Linked DNA regions of Homo sapiens: region 1 is linked to region 2. The links are contacts of gene promoters, found by promoter capture Hi-C in human tissues and cell types (Jung and others, 2019). All regions are on one chromosome and are shown on one strand. Each heading gives the region's core, a stretch centred on a gene start or on the middle of the fragment in contact. The rest is flanking DNA. Distances are from core to core; before and after follow the strand shown. Region 1 holds the start of CCR10 (C-C motif chemokine receptor 10). Region 2 overlaps BECN1 (beclin 1).

What was found. The method cuts DNA at HindIII sites, captures the fragments that hold promoters and counts their contacts. A contact is called where the count stands out against the background at its distance.
Region 1: a contact is called between the fragment with the promoter of CCR10 here and a fragment that was not itself captured in region 2, in 4 of the 25 tissues and cell types used here (dorsolateral prefrontal cortex, lymphoblastoid cells, mesendoderm cells and 1 more).

What each region holds. Positions count from the first base shown.
Region 1 is chr17:42,677,966-42,684,220 of GRCh38, forward strand. It overlaps CCR10 (C-C motif chemokine receptor 10), which reads right to left and starts at 3,878. Exons shown (of 2, transcript NM_016602.3): 1 at 3,835-3,878; 2 at 924-2,652. The coding sequence starts at 3,858. The coding sequence ends at 1,588. CNTNAP1 (contactin associated protein 1) reads left to right here and starts at 4,566. Exons shown (of 24, transcript NM_003632.3): 1 at 4,566-4,931; 2 at 5,856-5,957; 3 at 6,071-6,255. The coding sequence starts at 4,865. RefSeq lists enhancers at 1-181, 2,032-2,880, 4,099-4,717, 4,661-4,710, 4,971-5,020 and 2 more and silencers at 70-149, 500-589, 3,266-3,560, 5,806-6,100. The HindIII fragment of the contact is 6,302 bases long and covers 1,586-6,255 here.
Region 2 is chr17:42,812,001-42,817,695 of GRCh38, forward strand. It overlaps BECN1 (beclin 1), which reads right to left. Exons shown (of 12, transcript NM_001313998.2): 8 at 3,908-4,054; 9 at 2,524-2,673; 10 at 1,948-2,008. Among named protein-coding and RNA genes, the nearest start is that of MIR6781, 9.1 kb to the right of the region's middle. The HindIII fragment of the contact is 7,607 bases long and covers 568-5,695 here.

The sequences.
Region 1 (6,255 bases), core at 2,628-5,127, 130 kb before region 2:
AATATAGAGCTCACAGCTCACCGAACTCAGCTGGGGAGACTGACTTGGATTCTAAGGAATTCTGTGGTCTCCGAATACAGTGGAGGCCTCTTAGGGCTAATATCCTGCGGCTCTGTATAGGAAGGGGTTAACTCAGGCGCTAGGCGGCCGGGGCGGGGCCGCGGCCTCCGCGGGCGCGCGCGCGCGTTGCTGACTCAGCGGCGATTCCAGAGATCTTGGATGGAGGGTTCCAGGTCGGTCCCCAGTGGCTGGCGTGTGGGACCCTTTGAGGATCGGCGCCGTCTCCGGGCCTTCCCTGGATCCTGGCCCCTAGAGGCCGTGGGGGACCCCTTTTCGCCGCTGCTGCGGGAGGCTCTGAGGACTGCTAGCCTGGGCAGGGCTGGGCTGGGCGGGGAGGGGCGGGGAAGGGCGGGACGGGCGGGGCCGTCAGGCCAGCACCTCCCTTGAGACCTCCTCGCCACGCCCCGCCCTTCTCGACCCTAGACTCCAGGCTGGAGCGGTGGGGACAGCTTTGCTGACCGATATTAAACCGCGAGAACTGTCGCACGTGAACACCATCCTGCCCGTTGTGATTGTGTAAAACAAAGACCAGGAATCAATGCGAGCGTGTCTAGGAGGCCATCTCGGCCGTGGCCTCTCTCCACATGAGAGTGGCCTGTACTGAGAGATTACCTAGGAATGGAGATACCACAACCATCTTCCAGGTCTGGATCCCAGGCCCTTGCCTGCAGAGAAGTTTTTTCCCATATCCAACCTCTCTCTTTCCGGCCAGCTCAGTGCATTTCCTCTGACCCAGTCCCCAGAGAAGATGGAGAACAGCAAATATCCCTCACCCCCACCACACCCGTGATAACTACTCTGGAAATTTGCAGATTGCAATCCCTCCTAGGTTTTTCTTCAAGGTGGAAAAACTTCAACTCAAATTTTACAATTCATTTTTTCATTTTTTCTTTCCATCACAGACACTAGGAAGGGATTGTAAAGTGGTTATGAAATCCAAACGCCCACCAAAAACGGGAATCCCCTGCCCCTCCCCCTCCCCCCACACCACGCAAAGGCCCACAGCGTCCCCGACAGTCTGAACATTCCAATAGCGGGAACTCAGTATTTGCTAAGGCAGCCATTACTGGAGAGCGCTCTGGTTGTTAGAAAGCTCTTCCTTACAGTATTGCAAGAGGAACCACCGCCCCTCCTTGCCTGGCAGCTTTCCCACCTCACCTCTGTTGGCTGAGGCCAGGTGACGGTGGAGGGGGTGTCAGTGGCTAGAGCTTTAGCAGACTCAGCAGCCCCCCACCCCCACCCAGGCCCTCAGCGTCTTCCACTCAGAGAGCCAAGCGCGGGGCAGGGCGGGGGGTGGGGCGGGGGCGGGGTGTTAACCCACCGGTTCTGCCCCGCCACAAATCACTTCCAAGTCGGTGACTCAAAAATAGTAACAGTTGTTGGGTTGCATCTCATTTCCATGTTATCAATTTAATGTGGCAAGGCACAGAGGTAGTCCCTTTAGGTCCCTGCCTCTTTCTCAGTGTTCCCCCACCTACTCCCCTTTCCCACGACCCTCAGCCTGCCCCCTCCTCTAGATTCGCAGCCCTAGTTGTCCCAGGAGAGACTGTGGGTCTCCGTGGGAGCTGAGCAGGAAGAAAGGCGGGGCCGGCGGGGGCAGCCGCGGCGGGGTTGAGGCCCTGAGGGGCAGCTCCCACCCCGTAGCAGCCTCCGCAGGTCCTGGCGGAAGCGCAGGCCCAGGAAGGCGTAGAGAACGGGATTGAGGCCACAGCGGGCGAGGGCCAAGCCGCTGGTCACCAGCAGTGCGACATCCTTGCGTTTGCTGGCAGGGCAGCTCCGCTCGCGCGCAGCCAGTAGATCGGCAGTATCCAGCAGCAGGGCGAGGCTGTAGGGCAGCTGCAGCACCACGAAGGCCGCCACCAGAGCCACCACGACGCGCAGCGCACGCCGGCGCTCGGGCCCCCTGGCGGCCAGCAGCGTGCGGCCCAGAAGCGCGTAGCAGGCTACCATGACGCCCAGCGGCAGCGCGAAGCCCAGGGCCACCTGCGCCACGGCGCTCGCCCCCTTCACCGTCTGCGTGAGGCCCTCGGGGAAGATGAGGCGACAGCGTCGTTGGCCTTCCCGCTGCCCATCCTGGCTGAAGAGCAGCGCAGGCAGCGCCAGGAGCAGTGACAGCAGCCACACGATGACGGAGACCAAGTGTGCGCGGCCGGGAGTGGAGGGCCGCGGCCCGGCTGGGAGCGCTCGCGCGATGGCCACGTAGCGGTCGGCGCTGATACAGGCCAGGAAGAGGAAGCCGGCGTGGAAGGAGGCCGAGTAGAGGCCAGAGATGGTGCGGCAGGTGGCACTTCCCAGACTCCAGCCCTGAAGAGCCCCTGCTGCCGCGAAGGGCAGAGTCAGGGCCAGCAAGAGGTCGGCCAGGGCCAGCTGGAGCAGGTGGGCAGAGGTGGGCGAGCGCGCTGCGCGTCGGGCTGCCAGGTGGGTGGCCAGGACCAGGCCATTGCCGGCCAGACCCAGCGCAGCCACGGTCAGGGAGACACTGGGTTGGAAGGCCCGGCTGAAGGCCTGGACATCGGCCTTGTAGCAAAGCTCCGGCAGTGGCTCAGCCGAGTATGCGTCCTCTTCATCCCCAGAGTAATGGCCCCAGGAAACCTGGGAGGGTCAAATGAGAGGCGGGATCTTATGAGACACATCTGACCACACAACTCCCCCGCCCACACTTGCCTTCCAAGCTGAGAGCTCCTGTGTGGCCAGATGTAACAGTACACGGGGAGACATAAGCTCTTCTCCAGACTCTTCCTAGCACACCTTCAGCAGGCCTTGGCTTCCCTTGCACCCCTCCTACCTCTGCTTCCAGCTTCCTGGGTGACCTTGAGCAAGCCACTTGCTCTTTCTAGACCTCAGTTACCTAACCTGTAATGTTGAGATTATAAATCCTGACCAGCCCACCTCTCAAGGTTTGCTGTGAAGATGGCAATATGGAAAATAATGGATGGGGAGAACCTGTGTTCTCCAAAGGCCATAATACAAAGTTTGTATTATTATTATTATTTATTATTATTATTATTGGAGACAGAGTCTTGCTCTGTCGCCCAGGCTGGAGTGCAGTGGCACGATCTCGGCTCACTGCAACCTCCGCCTCCGGGTTCAAGAGATTCTCCTGCCTCAGCCTCCCAAGTAGCTGGGACTACAGGCGCCCACCACCACGCCCAGCTAATTTTTGTATTTTTAGTAGAGATGGGGTTTCACCATGTTGGCCAGGATGGTCTCGAACTCCTGACCTCAGGTGATCCGCCCACCTTGGCCTCCCAAAGTACTGGGATTACAGGCCTGAGCTACCACGCCCAGCCCAAAGTTTGTATTATTAATAAATCCTACAGCTTCAGTTCCCTTTGCAGCGCCCTCTCCTGGAAGGATGCCCATATGCAGGCTTTGCCTCAGACCTGAGCCCTGGACTCCAACCTCCGTCTGGAGTGGGTTTCTGTTTCTCTTCTTTCCCTTCCATACCCACCTTCCCTGTACCTCCAATACCAGCACACTGAACCACTCATGCCAAGGGGGTCTCCAGGGTTGGGACTCAGGTTTTCAGGGCCCAGGTGGGACCCTGGACCTCTAGGTTCAACCCGCCTTTCCCCTCAGCCCTAGTCCCTGTCCCACAACCCCAGCCTCACACCACCAGCCCATTTATCTGGAGGACCCCTAGTCTGAGACAGCGCCAAGAATCCTGAATAAGCCATAGGATGGCAGAGGCCCATTGCCAGGTGGGGAATCCCATTCCTTCCCTGTCTCCTCCCTCTCTGTAACCCTTCTCCCCCTCCCTGCCCCCACTCCCACCTGCTCTGTGGCCTCCGTCCCCATCTCTGGCTACACAGGTTTCTGAGGTATAGCCACAGGGGGTAGAAGTTAAACTACTAGCGGGACAGGAAGGAAGAGGCGGGGAGAGGGGCCGAGAGGGAGGTGGGGATTAGGGTCTACGGGGTCACTTTCCCATTCCACCTCCTCCAAAAGACTTCACTCTCTTGTGCAGGATCTGGATTTTACGAAAAAAAAAAAAAGAAGAAGAAAGGAAGGAAAGAGGAAAGAAAGAAAGAAAGAAAGAAAAAAAGGAAGGAAAGAAAGAAAAAAGAATGAACGAAAGAAAGAAAAAATAATTTACTGTCTTTGTCAGTGAAGAAAGAACGGGCTTCGGAATATAATCATTTGCTGTGTGATATTGACTAAGTTTCTTGACCTCTCTGAGCCTGAGGTTTTTCATCTGCAAAGTGGAGTAGGGCAAAAATGCTAAATTCACAGTGCCCAGCACCACTCCTAGAGCATAATTTGCCTTCCGAAAATGTTAAGATTCTTTTACTTACCCTTCATTCCATTTCCAGGCACCCCTCCCCCAAACCACCTCCCTTTTCTTGAAATTTTCAGGATGCTTCTGGCCCTAGGTTCCCTGTCCTCACTCCTGTGGCCCTAGTCCCGGGCAGCCTCGGGTTACTTGGGGTTTTCCCGGTGGCGAGAGGCTCTCTACCCCCGCCCTTTCGCAGCAGGGCTGAGGCACGCGCTTGCGCGGGGTCCGGGAAACCGGCGCGTGCCAGGAGACAGAGGCTGGGGAAGGGGGGAGGTGAGAGGAAAGAGGGTGGAAAGGAGAGGATAGAGAGAGAAGAGCGGAGGACCAGGAACCAGAGAGAGAGAGAGAGAAAAGAGAGAGGAGAGACAGAGCGCTTGGGGGCGAAAGGAGAGAGGGAGGGAAGGGTGGGTAAGGAGGAGAGAGCGGTCTGCTGCAAACCCCAGGAGGAGAGCTTGGAGCCCAAGCCAGAACTCGAGCCCTAGCCGGAGCCGTTCACAGGGAGGCGGCTGCCGGGACCGTCAGCCCTGCATGATGCATCTCCGGCTCTTCTGCATCCTGCTCGCCGCGGTCTCAGGAGCCGAGGGCTGGGGCTACTGTGAGTGTTGGGCTTGGAGGCAGGTGGGGTTGGGCCCAGGAGTCCAGAGCCTGCAGGGCGGCCCCGAACCGCATTGCGGCTGGGTGGTCGCGGGTCCTTCCCGGCCGGCGCGCGCCCGCTGGCTCTCATCTTTTCCTGCCTCTCCCCCGCGCTCCGCATTGCAGCTCTGAGGCTGCCGCGCGCGCCCGGGGCTGGGGCTGGGCTCTGGGAAGAGGATGAAGTCAGCGGGCAGGGATTTGGGGTTGGGATCCAAGCAGGAGCTGGTGCCTGGGTTTGAGGCTAGGGCTGGGGGATAAGTGTATACTGGTGACCGATACTAGGATTAAGGTTTTGCCAGGGCTTAAGGCTGGACTTTGGAGCTGGCCAAGGGGTGGGGTTTGTGGCTAGGGCTGGGGTTTGTGGCTGGGGCTGGGTTTTGTGGCAGGGATCCAAGCAGGAGCTGGTGCCCCTGACTGATGCTAAGGCTGGACATGGAGCTGGTGATGGTGCTAGCACTGGCTGAGGTTGGGTGCAAGGCCTGTATTTGGGGATGGTGCAGGTTTTGGGGGCCGAGTTGGATTGAGGCTAGGGTTGGAGCTGGATTGGTGTCTTGGGTTGACTTAGGTTGTGGAAGATGCTGAGGTTTAGGATTGAGTTTGGGAAAGTACTAAACCAGGGCAGGTATTGGGCTAGCTAGGGAGGGTCTGGCCTTGGGCCTATAGGTGTAGCCTAGGGGTTTGCCTAGAAGGAGAAGGTAGCCTCCTCTGAGCATGCAGCTGTTGCTGCAGCCAGGATTGAATAGATGGCTTTAAGGTAGGGCTGGGTGTGCCTCTGGGGGCGGGGGTTGGGGGCACGGAAGGGGAAGCTTCGGTCGCTAAGTGGGCCGGCCTTTGGAAGGGTCTGGGAGGGGCCAGCGCTGACTAACAGTCGGTTTCCCTACCCTAGACGGCTGCGACGAGGAGCTGGTGGGTCCCCTGTATGCACGCTCCCTGGGCGCCTCCTCCTACTACAGTCTCCTTACTGCGCCGAGATTCGCCAGGCTGCACGGTGAGCTCCGCGGAACATCAGCTGCCAACTGGCAGCGCACCGCGGAAGGGTGGGGGCCTCCGGAGGACTTCGGGGAGAGGGATAGCCGGTTAAAGCTCCTGTCCTTTCTATAGGCATAAGCGGGTGGTCACCACGGATTGGGGATCCGAATCCCTGGCTCCAGATAGACTTAATGAAGAAGCACCGGATCCGGGCCGTGGCCACACAGGGCTCCTTTAATTCTTGGGACTGGGTCACACGTTACATGCTACTCTACGGCGACCGAGTGGACAGCTGGACACCGTTCTACCAGCGAGGG
Region 2 (5,695 bases), core at 3,121-5,620:
CAATGAAAATGTACCATAGGTTGAGCATCCTTAATCCAAAAATCCAAATTGCTACAAAACCTTTCCAGGAAGAGTACATGGGAAAAGAAAAATAAATAAATAGACCAGGAGCAGTGGCTCACGCCTGTAATCCCAGCACTTTGGGAGGCCAAGGTGGGCAGATCACCTGAGGTTGGGAGTTTGAGACTAGCCTGACCAACATGGAGAAACCCCGTCTCTACTAAAAATACCTAATTAGCCGGGCGTGGTGGTGCATGCCTGTAATCCCAGATACTCAGGAGGCTGAGGCAGGGGAATTGCTTGAACCCGGGAGGCGGAGGTTGCAGTAAGCCGAGATCATGCCATTGCACTTCAGCCTGGGCAACAAGAGCGAAACTCCATTTCAAAAAAAAAAAAAACCCACAAAAAGAAAAGAAAAAAAAATAAAAATATGCCAGGCACAGTGGCTCACGTCTGTAATCCCAGCACTTTGGGAGGCCAAGGCGGGTGGATCATGAGGTCAGGAGATCAAGACCATCATGGATAACATGGTGAAACCCCGTCACTACCAAAAATACAAAAAATTAGCCAGGCATTGTGGTGGGCGCCTGTAATCCCAGCTACTCGGGAGGAGAGGAGGCTGAGGCAGGAGAACTGCGTGAACCTGGGAGGCAGAGCCTGCAATGAGCCGAGATCACGCCACTGCACTCCAGCCTGGGTGACAGAGTGAGACTCCGTCTCAAAATAAATAAATAAATAAAAATAATAAAAAATGCTACAAAACCTGAAACTTTTTGACCATTGATATGATGCCACAAGGGGAAAATTCCATACCTGATACCTTTGCTTTTTTTTTTTTTTTTTTTTTTTTTTGAGACAGAGGCTTGCTTTGTCGCCCAGGCTGGAGTGCAGTGGCGCAATCTCGGCTTACTGTAAGCTCTGCCTCCCAGGTTCACGCCATTCTCCTGCCACTGCCTCCCGAGTAGCTGGGACCACAGGCACCTGCCACCACGCCCAGCTGATTTTTTTTTTTTTTTTGTATTTTTAGTAGAGACGGGGTTTCACTGTGTTAGCCAGGATGGTCTCAATCTCCTGACCTTGTGATCCACCCGCCTTGGCCTCCCAAAGTGCTGGGATTACAGGCGTGAGCCACTGCACCCGGCCCTTTGCTTTCTGATGATTCAATGTATACAAGCTTTGTTTCATGCACAAAATTATTTAAAATATTGTATGAAATTACCTCAGACTACATGTATCAGGTATATATAAAACAGGCCAGGCACGGTGGCTCATGCCTGTAATCCTAGAACTTTGGGAGGCTGAGGCGGGTGGATCACCTGAGGTCAGGAGTTCGAGACCAGCCTGGTCCAACATGGTAAAACCCCATCTCTACTAAAAATACAAAAATTAGCTGGGCCTGGTGGTGGGCACCTGTAATCCCAGCTACTCCAGAGGCTGAGGCAGGAGACTCACTTGAACCTGGGAGGCGGAGGTTGCAGTGAGCCGAGATCGTGCCACTGCACTCCAGTCTGGGCAACAGAGCAAGACTCTGTCTCAGAAGAAGAAACATAAATGAATTTTGTGTTTAGACTTGGGTCCCATTCCCAAGATATCTTAGTATCTATATGCCAATATCCCAAAATCTGAAAAAAAAAATCCAAAATCTAAAACACTTCTGGTGATACTCAACCTGTAAACATCTATCTCACGGTGATTCTTTTCCTAGCCTAGTGCACACACCCTCTTCTGACCTGCCCATATCCCTTCTCAACAGACTGTCAAAACCTGATTTCTGTCTACAAGACCCCCAAAACTAAACCTGAACTAGACAAGATATTGAACAATATACTGGCTCTTCATATCTAGGTCTAAAAAATAAATTGAATGCCAATATCAAAGCAAACCATCCATTTTCTTAAGAGATATAAGAACTCTGTATTCCAGTGAAAATGGAGCTTCACAGAGTACCTTAGATTTGTCTGTCAGAGACTCCAGATATGAATGGTTTCCGTAAGGAACAAGTCGGTATCTAAAATAGAGATACAAACAGAGATGGATACAGGACTCCTCCCAAAGTGATTATTGGGAAGTTACAACCCAATGATTTCACTCTTCATTCTGGCCAAGGGCTTCTTTTATTATGCTCAACTCCCTCTCCCACCTCCCCATTGAATCCATGTTTAAAAGATTTTGTTTAATGAACAAACTACATTTATTATATAATTGCCTGGGGGCCTTCCATGAACAAATGTTATGTTTTGGTTTAAATTTAAGAAACAAAAACTGAAAATATCCTGAGGAACACTAAGGCTCTGGGGACTGTAGGCTGGGAACTATGCTATAGTCACGCAACTCAGTGACTGTGTGATCAGTGGAGAGAGCCCTGTGATGAGGGGAAAATCAGATGCTGACAGCTCTTCAGCCACAGAAAACTCCCAGTCTGTGGGCAGCAAGGGCTCCTGACATGGTGGACAGCAGTACCAGGTTGGAGATACAAATTATATCAATGCACATCACTCCCCAAGAAAGGGCTACACTTCCTACCTCTGAAATTTCAGACCCATCTTATTGGCCAGAGCATGGAGCAGCAACACAGTCTGGCCCCAAGCAGCATTAATCTCATTCCATTCCACGGGAACACTGGGCAGGCGACCCAGCCTGAAGTTATTGATTGTGCCAAACTGTCCACTGTGCCTACAGAGGAAGGCAGAAAGGTGGGGGGAAATACAGGGATTACTTAAAAAGTTTGACATTTCCCACTCTCACCCCAAACCTAGCTTAAATCTATCTTCAAGTCCATATATGCAAGCTGTACTTGGCACTTTAAATACATGTCCAAAACTTGAGTCATCATCTTTTTCCCTGCTGCTCAGATGCCAAAGCAGAAACCTGGGTGGTATCCTTGAATGCTCCCTCAGCTCCTTCCGTGCAAAACTGCCAACCTCTCCTGATTCTACCTGCTAAATATCTTGGATCTTTCCACTTTTCTCCAAATTCAATGCTACTATTCTTTTCCTTTAGATTCCTACTGATGAGTATCCTTTCCAACGATTCCACCCCTTTACCCCAAGTCATTCCCCATGGTGCAGGAAAAGCCATCATTCACGAATACAAGTGTAATTACGTCACTTCCCTAGCTAAAATGCTTCAGTGTCTCCTCTGCCTTTTGGATGAAGTCCAAACCTCTTAACGAGGCCTACGAGATCCTTCAGGAACTGGTAACTCTCCAGTTTCATATCCGGCCACTCTCCCCTTTACACTCAATCTTCAGTCACAATAAGCTCCTTTCTGTTCTCTGAATTCACCACTCCCTCTTTCCCATTTCTTTGCACATAATGTTCTCTCTGCTAGGAACAACCCCCTCTCTGCAGACTTCTACTTTACCTCTCAGTTTAAACGTAAGTCCCCTATGGGGAAACTCTCCATATGGCCTCCCCAAACTGGATCAAGTGCCCTTATGTGTTCCCACAGCACCCTGGGTTTACCATCATCACACTGCATTACAACTGCTTGTTATTTATCCATCTCTTCCACCAGATTATATGCAACTAGAAGGTTGACTGCATACTGTTTTGCTGTTGCCCTCCTAGCACTCAGCACAGTGCCTTTTCCAGAGTAGACACTCAACAGTTATTAAATTAATGGAACATCAAACACCGTGGGGATAAGAAATCAGCACCAGACAGCTTACCAGGTTTTTAAGTGGCTGAAGGGCTCAGGCCTTTTCCTTTCTTTAGAAGGGCGGATGTCACCAAGCTCTAGAATTCCAATCCCTACTGTGCCTATCCCATCACTATGAATGAAAGAAACCTAGTTGGGTGAAGATAACCTACAGTCCCTCTTTTGTGGGAAGTGGGCACCCAGGCTTAGTGGTCAACAGCTAAGGTCTAGATATGTGCAGTGCTCCTCATCCCCTAGCTCTCATTACCAGATGTGGAAGGTTGCATTAAAGACGTTGGTTTTCTTCAGCTTATCCAGCTGCGTCTGGGCATAACGCATCTGGTTTTCAACACTCTTCAGCTCATCATCCAGCTCCAGCTGCTGTCGTTTAAATTCACTGTATTCTCTCTGATACCTGTGAGCAGCCAAGGGGGCCATTGAAGGCTGTTAGCTTGGGGGCTAAAGTTTCTCTCTCACCACACTATGAACGATTCTTTAGTGATCATCGTTACATCTAGCTCTCGCATCTTTTATATTTGGCATAGATCCCATTCTGAGGAACATGTATGTCCTAGCTGTTTTGCCTGGAAGGAACAGAAATGTCTCAAATTCCAGCTGCCCATATGCAAAAAGGTGGAGGAAAAAAGAATTCTCCCAAACCAGGGCAAAAAACCTCTTATTTCTGATCTTTTTCAGAAGTGAGGTGAATGGGTTAGGAGTGGCTTCTTGGGGCCAGGCGTGGTGGCTCACACCTGTAATCCCAGCACTTTGGGAGGCCAAGACGGGTGGATAACTTGAGGTCAGGAGTTCGAGAGCAGTCCGGCCAATGTGGTGAAACCCTGTCTCTACTAAAAATACAAAAATTAGCCAGGCGTGGTGGTGCACACCTGTAGTCCCAGCTACTTGGGAGGCTGAAGTGGCAGAATTGCTTCAACCCAGGAGGCAGAGGTTGCAGTGAGCTATCACACCACTGTACTCCAGACTGGGCAACAGAGCCGAGACTCTGTCTCAAAAAAAAAAAAAAAAAAGAGTGGCTTCTGCTTCTTCTGGGCCGGGTGCAGTGGCTCACACCTGTAATCCCAGCACTTTGGGAGGCTGAGGTGGGCAGATCACCTGAGGTCAGGAGTTAGATGCCAGCCTGGCCAACATGGTGAAATTCCGTCTCTACTAAAAAAATAAAATTAGCCAGGCGTGGTGGCGCACGCCTGTAGTCCCAGCTACTTGGGAGGCTGAGGTAGGAGAATCGCTTGAACCTGGGAGGTGGAGGTTGCAGACAACTGAGATCATGCCACTGCACTCCAGCCTAGGCAACAGAGTGAGACTCTGTCTCAAAAAAAAACCAAAATCAAAAACAAAAAACAGTGGCTTTTTCCAGCTGGCCATGGTGGCTTATGCCTGTAAACCCAGCACTTTGGGAGGCTGAGGCAGGTGGATCACTTGAGCTCAAGAGTTCAAGACCAGCCTGGGCAACATGGGGAAACTCCATCTCTATAAAAAATACAAAAATTAGCCAGGTATGGTGTTGCGCGCCTGTAGTTCCAGCTACTTGGGAGGCTGAGGCGGGAGGATTGCTTAGGTGTAGGAAGTCAAGGCCGCAGTGAGTCATGACTGCACCACTGCACTCCAGCCTGGATGACAGAGTAAGACTCTGTTTCTAAAAAAAAAAAAAACAAAAAAACAGTGGCTTCTTCCATGAACTGGCCATAATTGGCCTTCTAAAGCTTCATTTCTATACACTTACTGTCCTTTAAATAGTTACTATACCCCACTTCCAGTGAAACTTGTTATACTACTGTGTGAAAAAAATGGACTTTTCTCTATCCTTCATTTCCACAACTTCAGTTAGTATGGACACTGTGTGTCCTCCACTAGAGAGAGGGTTCTCTCAGGTCAAGGACATCTATAATGTTTTTATTTTTTGAGACAGGGTCTCAACTCTGTTGCCCAAGCTGGAGTGCAGAGGTGTGATCACAGCACACTGTAACCTCAAACTCCTGGGCTCAAGTTATCCTCCACTTCAGCCTCCTAAGTAGTTGCTAGGACTACAGGTCTACCA